2 separate regions of the Homo sapiens genome follow, and region 2 is linked to region 1. The links are contacts of gene promoters, found by promoter capture Hi-C in human tissues and cell types (Jung and others, 2019). All regions are on one chromosome and are shown on one strand. The core of a region is centred on a gene start or on the middle of the fragment in contact, and the rest is flanking DNA. Distances in the headings are between cores, read along the strand shown.

Region 1 (6,024 bases), core at 1,369-3,868:
CTTGGCTCACTGTAACCTCTGACTCCCTGGTTCAAGCAGTTCTCCTGCCTCAGCCTCCCGAGTAGCTGGGATTACAGGCATGCACCATAATGCCCAGCTAATTTTTGTATTTTTAGTAGACAGGGTTTCACCATGTTGGCCAAGCTGGTCTCGATCTCCTGACCCCGTGATCAGCCCGCCTCGGCCTCCCAAAGTGCTGGGATTACAGGTGTGAGTTACTGCGCCTGATCACAGCTATTTTAATTGTTGAAAATTTATCTAAGATCCCACCCTGCCTGGGCTGCACGAGCATCGCAGACAGCACCTGCCTGTGTCAGTCCTGCTGTTGGCTCTCCGCTGCCAGGCTTTCCTTGTTCTGGTCCAGGGATGGTGGGTCATCCCAACTGCAGGCGAGGGTATGTTCCACATTTCCTCACACCCAGCACTTTGGGCAGGGTGGAGACTGCGGGGAGGGCTTCCCTCCTCTTTCAGTGTCATTCAAAGTCCTGTAAACAGGCACTAGCACAGATGGGGCAGTCACCACCTCCTGCCTGGCCTTGCCGGGACACCTGGGACCCCACAGCATTAACGAGAGGAGCACTGTTTCTTGCACCCTCTCCGGGGTCACCCTCCCTAGCCAGCATCGGGCAGGGTCATCTGGTGCTCAGAACCAATGTCCAGACCAGGACTAGGACATACAGTCCTACAGCTGGGCCATAAAAAGTCCTACAGCTGAGCCATAAAAAGTCCTACAGCTGGGCCATAAAAAGTCCAGTTCTTTCTGACCCTGACCAACTGTCCACTCCAGCTCAGGTCCAACCCTGGGTGGGGAGGCAAGGACTATCCTTCTGTATCCCCCTCTTGCCTCCTGGGGGATGGGTGGAAAAGGGGCCCCTTCATGTCTGTTGGCAGCACAGGCCTAGGTTCAGGCCTAGTTGTGCTTAAACTCTGTCTGCATTTGATGTCTGCAGTGCCCACTGACCGGTGTGGACACAGGGACTTACAGACGGCTTCAAAGTGCCCTGCACTAAACAATGCCCCCTTCTCCCACTGAGATGGGGAATTCAAGCCCATCCAGGCCCAGTACCTGGCAGTTCCTGATGGGGAAAACCACCCAGGCAAGCAGGCTACGTTTTCCTGACGGGTGAGGACCGACTGCATGGACAGCAGGGGCAGAGGGGACCCTGGGGAGGGAGCCTCCTAGGGAGATGTGCCATTCAACCAGCCTCTCAAGACTGGGGAGCTGGCTGGCATCAGGCGTTTCACACCCCATGCGCTCCAGGGAACAGAGATGCTGAGTGTGCACTACAAGACCCTCCCCAGGCGGTGCCCTGAGGTGCCGCGGAGAAGCAGGAGGAGGCAGGTTACATCCCTGAACAAGACAGAGGGCAGGGCAAGTGCTGTGCTGGGGATCTCCTAGCTGGAGATCTCCACCAGCTGGGCCCCCAGCGCCGCAGGTCCCCATTTTTCTCCCTGCCTGCTTTCTCTGCCCCAACTCAGGGATCCTCATCTTAGGGAAGGAAGGGGAAGGTGGAGCTCAGAGGTCACGGTCTGCTGGGAGGCTGCACGGTCTCTCTCCCCTGGACTGGTCAGGGCCGGCTATTAAACTGGGCTGGGGGGAGGCTCCTGGGAGACGGCGCATGAGCGGTCCGCGAGCCCAGCCCAGCTCTGGCGGGAATTCTGGAGACTTCGAGCCAGGTCCTTGGCGTCCTGGGCTTCGGCTGTTCCTTCTTGGACTGGGAAGTGGAGCGGACAGGGTATGGCCCAGGTTAGGAAGTCTGGCGCTCTTGCGGCGCGCGGGACCCCAGGGGCTGCTTAGGCCAGAGCGAAACGAGGGGTCCCCCCGCGCCAACGCAGGACCCATATCTACCCCTCCCGCTCAGACGGGAGGACGCGGTGTGCCGGGATGGGGGGCCGCTATGCTGGCTGCGCCGCCACCCGGCCTAGTGCCCTCGCCTCCAGGGGCCGGCATGGCCCTGTCCTTCGGGGCGGGACCCTGCGCTCCCGTCCCCCCAGTGGTGACGGGGACTCCCGACGCCGAGCAGCGCCGTATCTGGGGAGCGCCGCCCGGTACGCAGGGAAGAGGCACTCAGAGCTGCGCGCGCCAGAGTGCAGACCGCCGAGGGCAGAGCCACAGAGCAGGGGGGCCGGCGAGGGACCGCGGCCGAGGGCGTCGAGGGCGCCCCTCCATCCCCAGCGTCCCCTGACTTGCCCTTGGAGCCCCAAGCTCCCAGGAGCCGTTTTCTACTCGTGGGTGCAGGACTTAGTCCCAGAAAAGTTCCGGACACACGCGCTGCTGCCGCCGCCCGGAGACGAAAAGACACTCCCCGCGCAAGCGCGGCCGACTCCCTCAGCTCCTGCGGCCGCCACGCTGCGAGCCCCGGCGTCCACGGTACGACGGGAACCAGGATGCAGCGAGCCCCAGGAGCCAGCCGCCCCGGTGCACGCCGGGACCGGTAGTCCGCGCCTCAGGGTAGTCCGCCGCTCCGGTGCACGCCGGGATCGGTAGTCCGCACCCCAGCGTGCAGGCCGTCCCGGTGCACGCCGGAACCGGTAGTCCGCGGTGGCGCGGTCCGCCCCTCACCTGGCCAGCGGCGGGCGCTGAGGGGCCCAATGGGAGCCGCGGCCTGGCCGCCCCGCCCCGCGCCTCCGGACGTCTGTGCCGGGACAAGGCCGCCGCTGGTGCCGGGTCCTTGAGGAGAGCGCCTCCCGTCCGAGGCCAGCCGCCTCTGTCAGCCGTCCGCGCGGGCCGGGTCTGAAGCGCCGCCGGGACGGCGAAGAGCCGCGGCCGCCGCGGAGAAGGAGGCAGCGCAGGAGGCCGGAGCGGCCGCCGCGCCCGAGCACATGGCGTCCATCTTACTGAGGAGCTGCCGCGGCCGGGCGCCCGCCCGCCTCCCGCCGCCGCCTCGGTACACCGTCCCGCGGGGTAAGCGGCGGGCACCCCAGGGCGGGGCCGGCTCCCGGCTGGTGGGTCGGGAGCGCGGACGACCCGCGGGTTCGGGCTGGTTGTCACGGCGATGCGGGGAGCCCGGTGGTCCCGGCCTCCGGAGCCCCTGCGGGACCGTGGGGCCCCGGGTCTCGTCGCGGGCTGGGCCGCCAGCGCCGGGCGGAGCCGCTGGGCCTCTGCCGTGTGTTGTGACCTTAGGCGGCCGGGTCCCCCGGGTCACTGCCTCAGAGACAGTGGGAAAATTCTGAAGGGCTGGGCAGCCCTGGCGCGCCCTGCGCGAGTAAGCTTGGTGGAACGTGTCCACGCACGAGGACGGCCGTGCCCTTTGGTCACGTTTGGGGTCCCGGAGACGAGACTGGGTGGGCAGGGCAGACACCGGCGAGCAGGACCTGCTGGGCTGCAGGAGCCTTCCTGGTCCGTCACTGATGAGGTGATGCCAGCACCTACAAACCCCTGTGGTGTGATTAGGCCGCGACCGGCACCCGGGGAACACGGGGACTCCGGAGCCGCTGAGGGTCCTCAGGGTGCGTGGCTTTAGCCCCCCTAGCCTCAGGTGCTGTCTGGAGTGAATGCTGTCCCAGGGTGTGCCCACCTCCTCTCTCTCTCTAATTAACCAACTTATTTGAGTCTATGTCCTTATTTGTAAAATTGGAATAAACATAAAACTTGCTAAGAGGGACTCAAGTAAAATAATTAGTGCAGTGGTGCGATCATACTCACTGCACCTCAAACTCCTGGGCTCAAGCTATCCTTCTGCCTCAGCCTCCCAAGTTGTTAGTTGTGCCACACAACACCCAGCTAATTTTTTTTTTTGTAGTTTTTTTGTAGAGACAGGGTCTTGGTATGTTGCCCAGCCTGGTCTTGAACTCCAAGGCTCAACTGATCCTCCTGCTTTGGCCTCCCAAAGTGCTGGGATTACAGGAGCCACCATGCCCAGGCACCCAGCTTCAATATTCTTGTCTCTGTTCCCCACCCCCAAAGAGATAGATTGAAGTTGCCCTGAATGTATCCTCCCAATTCTTGTTTTTTTTTGTTTGTTTGTTTGTTTGTTTTTAAAGACAGAGTCTCAATCTGTTGCTCAGGCTAGAGTGCAGTGGTGTGATCTTGGCTCACTGCAACCTCCACCTCCTGGGTTCAAGTGATTCTCTTACCTCAGCCTGCCGAGTTGCTGGAATTATAGGCACCCGCCATCACGACTGGCTAATTTTTGTATTTTTAGTAGAGACTGTTTTCTCCGTCTTGGCCAGGCGGGTCTCGAACTCCTGACCTCAGGTGATCCACCCACCTCGGCCTCCCAAAGTGCTGGGATTACAGGCGTGAGCCACCGCGCCCGGCCCCCAATTCTTGTAATTTTTTTTTTTTTTTTTTGAAATGGAGTCTCGCTCTGTCATCCAGGCTGGAGTGCAGTGGCATGATCTCGGCTCACTGCAACCTCTGCCTTCCAGGTTCAAGCGATTCTCCTGCCTCAGCCTCCTGAGTAGCTGGGATTACAGGCGCACACCCTCATGCCTGGCTAATTTTTGTATTTTTAGTAGAGATGGGGTTTCACCATGTTGGTCAGGCCGGTCTTGAACTCCTGACCTCGTGATCCACCCACCTCAGCCTCCCAAAGTGCTGGGATTACAGGCGTGAGCCACCTCGCCTGGCCAATTCTTGTAATTTTTACAATAATGGCTGGTTAGCCACTGAAACTTTTGGAGTGGTGAGAGGATGTTGAGTGGTGGAACTGCACAGTCTGAAGGTGGAGCTCAGCATGTGGTCTTTCCAGTTGCTGTGTTAGATGTTAGAGCTCTCTCTGGACCTCTTGATGGTGATAAAAGTACTTTTAACACTTCGTGCTTATTATCAGATTTTTGATAAATAATAATAATAATTAGCTTTTTATGTGCGATTCTGTCATTTCAGGAACACAAATGTCTTCTGTAGTTACTACTGTGCTTTGTGACAGGGACACTGGCAGGTCTGCTGTAGAAACAGTAGGGATTTCAGAGCCAGCGAGACCCAGGGCTGGACTGTGGAGGAGGTCCCTGAACTGATGAGTGATACACCGAGTGGAGTGCTGCAGGCCCCTGCTATTAACATCTTAGATGAGTAGGGTTCGTTGTCACAGTTAATGAACTGACCTTGATCTGTTACTGTTCACTAAAGTCCATAACATATTCAGATTTTCTTTACTCTCCCGTTCTCCATTCTGAGGTCCTTTTTCTGTCCCAGGACCCATCTGTACCACCCTTCTTGATTGCCTCTCAGGCTTTCCTTGTCTGCAGTGACCTTGACAGCTTTGAGGAGTACTGCCCAGGTGGAGTGTAGGGTGCTGCTCTACTGGTATTTCTTGATGTTTCCTCATAATTAAGCTGGGAAAGATGGTTTTTCAGGAGGAAGACCACAGAGGTGAAGCATCCTTATCATATCCCGCCGAGGCTCCATGCTGTCCAAATGATTTGTCACTGTTGATGTTGACCTTGATCAGTAGGCTGAAGTGGTGTTTGTCAGGTTTTTCACTGCCCAGTTACTCTTGTCCCACCTCCCCATTTGTCCTTTTTGGGAGGAAGTCGCTTTACGAGCAGAAGCAGGGCTGACTCCAAGGGCTGTGTGGGAGAGGGGGCCTCTGGCCTGAGCCGCCTGGGGACAACAGTGAGGGCTGTGTGGGAGAGGTGGCCTCTGGCCTGAGCCGCCTGGGGACAACAGTGCCATTTGTTGAAACTGGGGAGGACTTGGGGAGGAGCAGAATGAGGAGGGGCGCTAGTTGAGAGTTCTTGGAGGTGTGGACTGTGCCGTGCCCATCAGACCTGTGGGGCGTGTGTATTCAAGTCAGGGAAGAGATTGCCTGGGGAGGAGGTGGAGGTCAGGTAGGGAGGCTCTCCCAGGAGTGGCAAGGGTGAAGCCAGGTGAAGAAAGGTTTGTTTGTTCTTTGACCTGATCCTGGCACCAGCACTGAGGGCTGAGAACCCTGGAAGTTTCCTGAATGATGGGAGTGTCTTTTTTCATTTGTTTGTATTTTGAGACAGGGTCTTGCTCTGTCACCCAGGCTGGAGTGCAGTAGCTTGATCATGGCTCACCACAGCCTCCAAGCGATCCTCCTGCCAGCTGATGTTTTA
Region 2 (6,024 bases), core at 1,950-4,449, 1.1 Mb before region 1:
GCATGTATCCATGTATATCTAATATTATATATTCAACTTCTCTAACCATTAATCAAGCTATACATAATGATGCTTTCTGACCACAGGAGCAAATACTCTCACTCAATGGGGACAGGCCTCATAATCACACTACTGTGGAGTTAATATGAGATATTTCAGGGAAAAAATTAAAACTTTCTTTTTTTTTTTTTTCGAGACGGAGTCTCGCTCTGTCACCCAGGCTGGAGTGCCGTGGCGCGATCTCGGCTCACTGCAAGCTCTGCCTCCAGGGTTCACGCCATTCTCCTGCCTCAGCCTCCCATGTAGCTGGGACTACAGGCGCCCGCCACCACGCCCGGCTAATTTTTGTATTTTTAGTAGAGACGGGGTTTCACCATGTTAGCCAGGATGGTCTCAATCTCCTGACCTTGTGATCCGCCCGCCTCGGCCTCCAAAAGTGCTGGGATTACAGCTGTGAGCCACCGTGCCCGGCCAAAACTTTCATTTTTCAAACTATCACTGTGGTCTTAGGTTTTGTGACAGAATCTGGTTTTATGTTATTTAGCATTTATAGAGCACTTGTATTTATCTCATTATCTAATCTCTGCAGCATTATAAGGAAGGCGGCTTGGTATAGTTCCTTTTTGTAAATTACATGCAGATAGGAAGGTAGTGTAAAAAGAAAACTGGCTTAGCTTCAATCTGACTTCCACTAAGGATGATTATTTTCCATGACCTATTTGGAGTTCACAGTCAGGGATAAGAGGCACAGTCAAATGCTCCACTGAAAATGGCTGCTGAGAACGCATACTGCTCTGGGACTCCCTGATTATCTTAAGGGAAAAAGATCCCATTCTCTTCCCACCCATTCTCAGTTCTTCTATTCAAAATAGTGTGAGTTGGTGCACAAAAATACTGAGAAGATGAAGTCTTTGTTTTAGACTTTTTTAAAGAGATGGTCTTGCTGTGTTTTGCCCAGGCTGGACTCTCCTGGGCCCAAGTGAGCCTTCCACCTCAGCTTCCAGAGTAGCTGGGACTACAAGCGTGGCCGCCACCTTCGGCTCCAGACTGTCCTTTAAATATGCATCGCCGGCTGCTGTGGCATCTTCAGTCGGCATTTACACTGTCCTGGAGCACAGTCCGAGCAGAGCTGCTCCATCACGCAAGGAAATAGAGGAAATCAGCAATTCCGTAAGAGTGACGGGGTGTGAAGAACTACCGTGGCTAGCACAGGGACTTGAGGTCCGAGGCTCTGTCGCCAGCTCTCTTGAGACGCAGGCAAGGGAGACATGAGGTCCGAGACAGAGGATTGCACAGAGGATTGTGGGGGTCTCCCGCTGAAGGGCTGGACCAACTGATGCTTTTGTGGCGGGATGCAGAGGACTAGAGAGACCAGCATGGGTGAAAACAGGAGGATATTTATGTTAAGGTACGCACCAGCTCAGTGGATTCACATCCAAAAAGCTGAGCCTTGAACAAAGACTAAGCAGGATTTTTATAAGCAAACTTACAGAAGCAAAACAAAGGCAGTTAATCATATAATGACAGGTCACATAATCTATAGCATAACTGATGACTTGGCATAACTTGTGGCCTTGCATAGCTGGTGGCCTTGTAGCTGCGTTGAAAGAAAAAACCAAGAACTGGCTAAACACAGATATTTGTCCTCTTTTTTTTTTTTCTTCACCCCTGCTCTGGAAGGGGGGTGTCTGGAGCCTATTCCTTTGGATTCGACTTCTCAAACAGAACAGCGTTATCTTATAACTGTCCTTAAAGTGAGCTTGCTAAGCAAAAGAAAACTTGTTCTTCTTTTCTTTTTAACCCTTGCCTTGCCACATTCTGGGCCTTGGCTTTTTCTTTTCTTGGAGTGAATGAATGCAGTACTTATTACTATTTTTAAATTTCTGCCTCACTTTAATAATGATAAAAGGCTGAATTTTTGCCAACTTGTCCATCTGTGACCACGTCGTGCTAAAGCACACTTGACACACCATAGAGCCTCAGATCAAACCTCAAAACCAAGCAGCTATGTTAAAAATAACATTGCCCTACAATCATTATCGGAAGGTTCTCGCCCAGAGTAGTTCCCAGGCTGCTATTCTTTGTCCCCCTTAAGACCATAAAGACGCCGTTCTTTTTTGGTGGGACAGGTTGTCCAACACAAGCAGGACACTGCCTGCCGCATCCTGAAGCAACACTGTCACCGAGGTCACACCGAGAGGACAGGACAAGGACACAGGGCAAGACTAAGAAGAGCAAAGCGCAGACTTCTCTCATCTGGGCCAGGAGATGGGGACTGGGACCTGGCCCGGGCAGCCTGACCACACTGCACAGACCCCGGCTCCGGCTCCGTGCAGATCTGGGTTCCCCCAGTGGGAGGTGTCGGGGCTCTCCAGGGAAATCGGGGTTCTCCGGGGATGTCGGGTTCCTTCAGGGGGGCCAGGGTTCCCCGGGATTCGGGGTTCTCTGGGGGGGGGGTCGGGGGCGCCTGCCGCGCACCCACCTTGACGCGCTTTCAGCAGCAGCGAGTTGGCCACGATGTTCTCGAGCTCCATGTCCTGGCGCCGCCGCCGCCGGCGGATTCTGCGAGACCGAGGAGACTGAGGAGGCGGAACAGGAGGAGACGCCGCCGCCCCCGTGCATAGCTCGCCGGGCACCACCCTCTCCTCGAGCTCCGGACACGATCCCGGGAGGCTGCTCCGCCGCCACCACTGCCACCAAGGGCGCCGCCGCCGCCGCCTCCGCAGGCCCTCACCAGCAGGGGAGCGGTCGGGGCGAGGGGAGGGGGCAGCCCGACCGCGGCGGGTCCCAGCTGTCACCGCTGCCGCGCTATCGCCCCGGTTCTTCTTGGCCCCATCGCCCTCGCCTCGCGCGCGCAACTCCCTCCTCAGTGCCCTGCCCCCGGGCAGCCCCGAGTCAATGCCGTGGCTCACTTCGGACAGGGGCTCACTGGCAGGGGCGCCCGCCGCGGCCGGCGACCCGCTCCCGGGCGGGCTCGGCGCTAACGGCTTAGCTGAAGAGGGAGCGCCCCTCGCCGCCGCGGCCGGGGCACTACAGCTCCCAGAAGGCCCTGCGCCAAGAGTACACGGCGGGCCGCGGCGCGTGGCCTGCTGGGAGTTGTAGTCGCTGAGCCTATCGGCGAGTAAGCCGAGCCTGCGGGCGCGGTGTTTACTTCTCGCGAGTCGGAGGTGCTGCGCTGTTCTCGCGAGACGAGGAAGCGGTTCCGCGGCCCGGCACGTGTCTTAGGGTAGCGCGCGCCTGTCTCTCTTCGGGTCTCGGGCCCTTGGGCGCAGCGGGGCGCGCGCCATGGCGAAGGCGAAGAAGGTCGGGGCGCGAAGGAAGGCCTCCGGGGCGCCGGCGGGAGCGCGAGGGGGCCCGGCGAAGGCCAACTCCAATCCGTTCGAGGTGAAAGTTAACAGGCAGAAGTTCCAGATCCTGGGCCGGAAGACGCGCCACGACGTGGGACTGCCCGGGGTGTCTCGCGCACGGGCCCTCAGGAAGGTAAGCGGGGGGCGCACGGGGAGCCGGAAGGCAGGATCTGGACCCCACGCTGCTCTCGGCCGGCTGCGTCCTTCTCGGTGCGTCGGTTTCCTCGTTGAGCGGCACAGGCCGTGACAGGCACACGGCACTGACTTGATAGTCCGAAAGCCTCTGCTGTTCTCTGAGCTGGAGTGACCTGGAAACTCTCGCCGTCTTGGAGACCCTGCACTCGTGTTATTTCGGCGACTCCTCCAACCGGGTCAGGCCGAGTCAGTCACTTCGGGCGGCGCCCTGGACCAAGCTGCTTGTTAACCCTTCCGCGTTTACTTTGAGCTCTGCAGGTTTGGGGACGGTGGATAGGGGCTGTGTAGGATGCTGCGTTTGATGTTTCATCGGCTCTCTCCCGAAGCGCGTAACCTTGTTCCTTGGGAAGTAACTCTATGGAAACTCATTGCTTCCTAGTTTTTTTAACTTTTTTTTTTTTAAATTTTCACTGAGGAACATACATTAGCAGGTTGGTGAAAAAATTAAGGCACAGAAAGGACAAGTGCATTTCCTAAGGTCACGCACCTGGTAAGGGCTGGGCATGCATTCACATTTCAATATCTACAAAGCCTTCTTGCTACCCCGAGCGCTTCTGTTTGACCTCGCTTCTAGGTTCGGGGAGATAAAGGTAAATAAGACTTGCCCTTGCCTTCATGAGCTCCTGATCTCTGTTCATCACAGTGTGCAAGCTGGATGGTCTTTGAATCAAAACACATATTATCCTTACTGCGCGAAGACGACAGCCTGTATAATGAATAGGCAAGATAGACTTACAGCTGACTTCGATAGGAGTCCCTCATTACACACCCCCGGGCCGGGGTGGGAGAATAAGGTAGTGTGGTTCCCTAGAAGAGACACATTTGTCTTCACCACTGAAGCCTCAGTTTTCTCATTTCAAAAGTAGAGATGATAGTATACATCCTACCCCTCGTGGTGGTTTGTGAGAATTAAGTAAGATAGCACATAGAGCACACAGCAAGTGTTCTCTAAATACTGTTATTCTTAACCTTCTTGGCTTGTCGTTCGAGTCCCGCACAGTCTGGCTGTTGTCCTTGCTTCGCCTCTTGCAACTCAGTTTGTCCAAAAGGTCTGCCTTACCTCCGAAAGTCTCTAAAGGGCCAGCTCAGGTTCACCACCCAAGCTATGTAACCCAAATAGGACAGGTTGCTCAAACTTCTGGTATTGAGCAGATCCACCTCCCTGCCCTGTGCTGAAGGCCTGGGACGGGGACGGGAATTGCTGCTCCTTTTTGGATCTCCAATGCTTGGCCCTTGGAAGAAACACAAATATTTGAAGAAATCAAAGATGGAACCTGAGTGCCTTAGGAGATCCCGGTCAGGAAAAAGTGTAATAGTTAGGAAAGTCCAAAAATTCTTCTAGAGGGAGTTACAGTCAAGTTTTGCAAGGGGAGTGAGCTGTTCATGGGCCCAGGGTGGGCAGAGGACACACATGCAAAGGCACATTGTCCCGGTATGGTGAAGTGTGGCACTCACAGCTGTCTGAGGGACAGCAGGTCGTCCAGTTGACTCCAAGCTTGATAACGCGTGTAGGGGCCGTGAGGCCGGCGCAGGAGGCCTGGGTCTTTTCATGTGGGTTAGTCCCTTAGAAGTAAACAGGCTGCCTCAGTTGGCTTCTCCCCTCTGGTCAGTTGTAGCACTCTGAGGCACTCAGTCTGGCAGGAAGAGGGCAGCCCCCAGGTGCCAGTCTCAGGACATTGCTTTATAGCTGTGCCTCAGTTTCCTTATTTCTGAAATAATTTATAAAATAAGTTATATTAATGTAGTTCTTAAATCAGTAACTATATTAATATAGTTACTATATATTAATATACTAACTATATTATTAATATAGTTACTATATATTAATATACTAACAATATTAATATATTAATATATTATTATAATATTAGCATATTAATATATTATTGTAATAGCATATTAATATATTATTATATTAGTATATTAATATATTATTATAATATTAATATATTATTAAAATATTAATATATTATTATAATATTAATATAGTATTAATATAATATTGATGTAGTATTAATATAATATTGATATAATATTAATATAATAATATTGATATAATATTAAAATAATATCGATATAATATTAATATAATATTGATATAATATTAATATAATAATATTGATATAATATTAAAATAATATCGATATAATATTAATATAATATTGATATAATAATATAATAATAATGTAATTATAATATTAATATATTGATAATGTGATTATAATATTAATATATTGATAATGTGATTATAATATTAATATATTAATATTAATGTGATTATAATATTAATATATTAATATTAATGTGATTATAATATTAATATATTAATATTAATGTGATTATAATATTAATATATTAATATTAATGTGATTATAATATTAATATAATATTAATATAATAATATATAGTAACTATATTAATAATATAGTTACTGGTCCCTTACAGTTGGTCAGGCCTTGTGCCACACGGTTTACATTTAATC

What was found. Contacts are between HindIII fragments. The study calls those that stand out against the background at their distance.
Region 2: a contact is called between the fragment with the promoter of NOP14 here and the fragment with the promoter of LETM1 in region 1, in 2 of the 25 tissues and cell types used here (dorsolateral prefrontal cortex and spleen).

What each region holds. Positions count from the first base shown.
Region 1 is chr4:1,852,750-1,858,773 of GRCh38, reverse strand. LETM1 (leucine zipper and EF-hand containing transmembrane protein 1) reads left to right here and starts at 2,618. Exons shown (of 14, transcript NM_012318.3): 1 at 2,618-2,905. The coding sequence starts at 2,824. RefSeq lists enhancers at 737-1,532, 2,202-2,271, 2,909-3,410 and silencers at 1,802-2,021, 2,422-2,981, 2,992-3,181, 3,976-4,152. The HindIII fragment of the contact is 14,961 bases long and covers 1-6,024 here.
Region 2 is chr4:2,960,581-2,966,604 of GRCh38, reverse strand. It overlaps NOP14 (NOP14 nucleolar protein), which reads left to right and starts at 3,199. Exons shown (of 18, transcript NM_001291978.2): 1 at 3,199-3,480. The coding sequence starts at 3,286. GRK4 (G protein-coupled receptor kinase 4) reads right to left here and starts at 3,034. Exons shown (of 16, transcript NM_182982.3): 1 at 2,483-3,034. The coding sequence starts at 2,534. RefSeq lists silencers at 2,362-2,411, 2,582-3,011 and enhancers at 2,474-3,007, 3,008-3,541, 4,572-4,641. The HindIII fragment of the contact is 12,457 bases long and covers 1-6,024 here.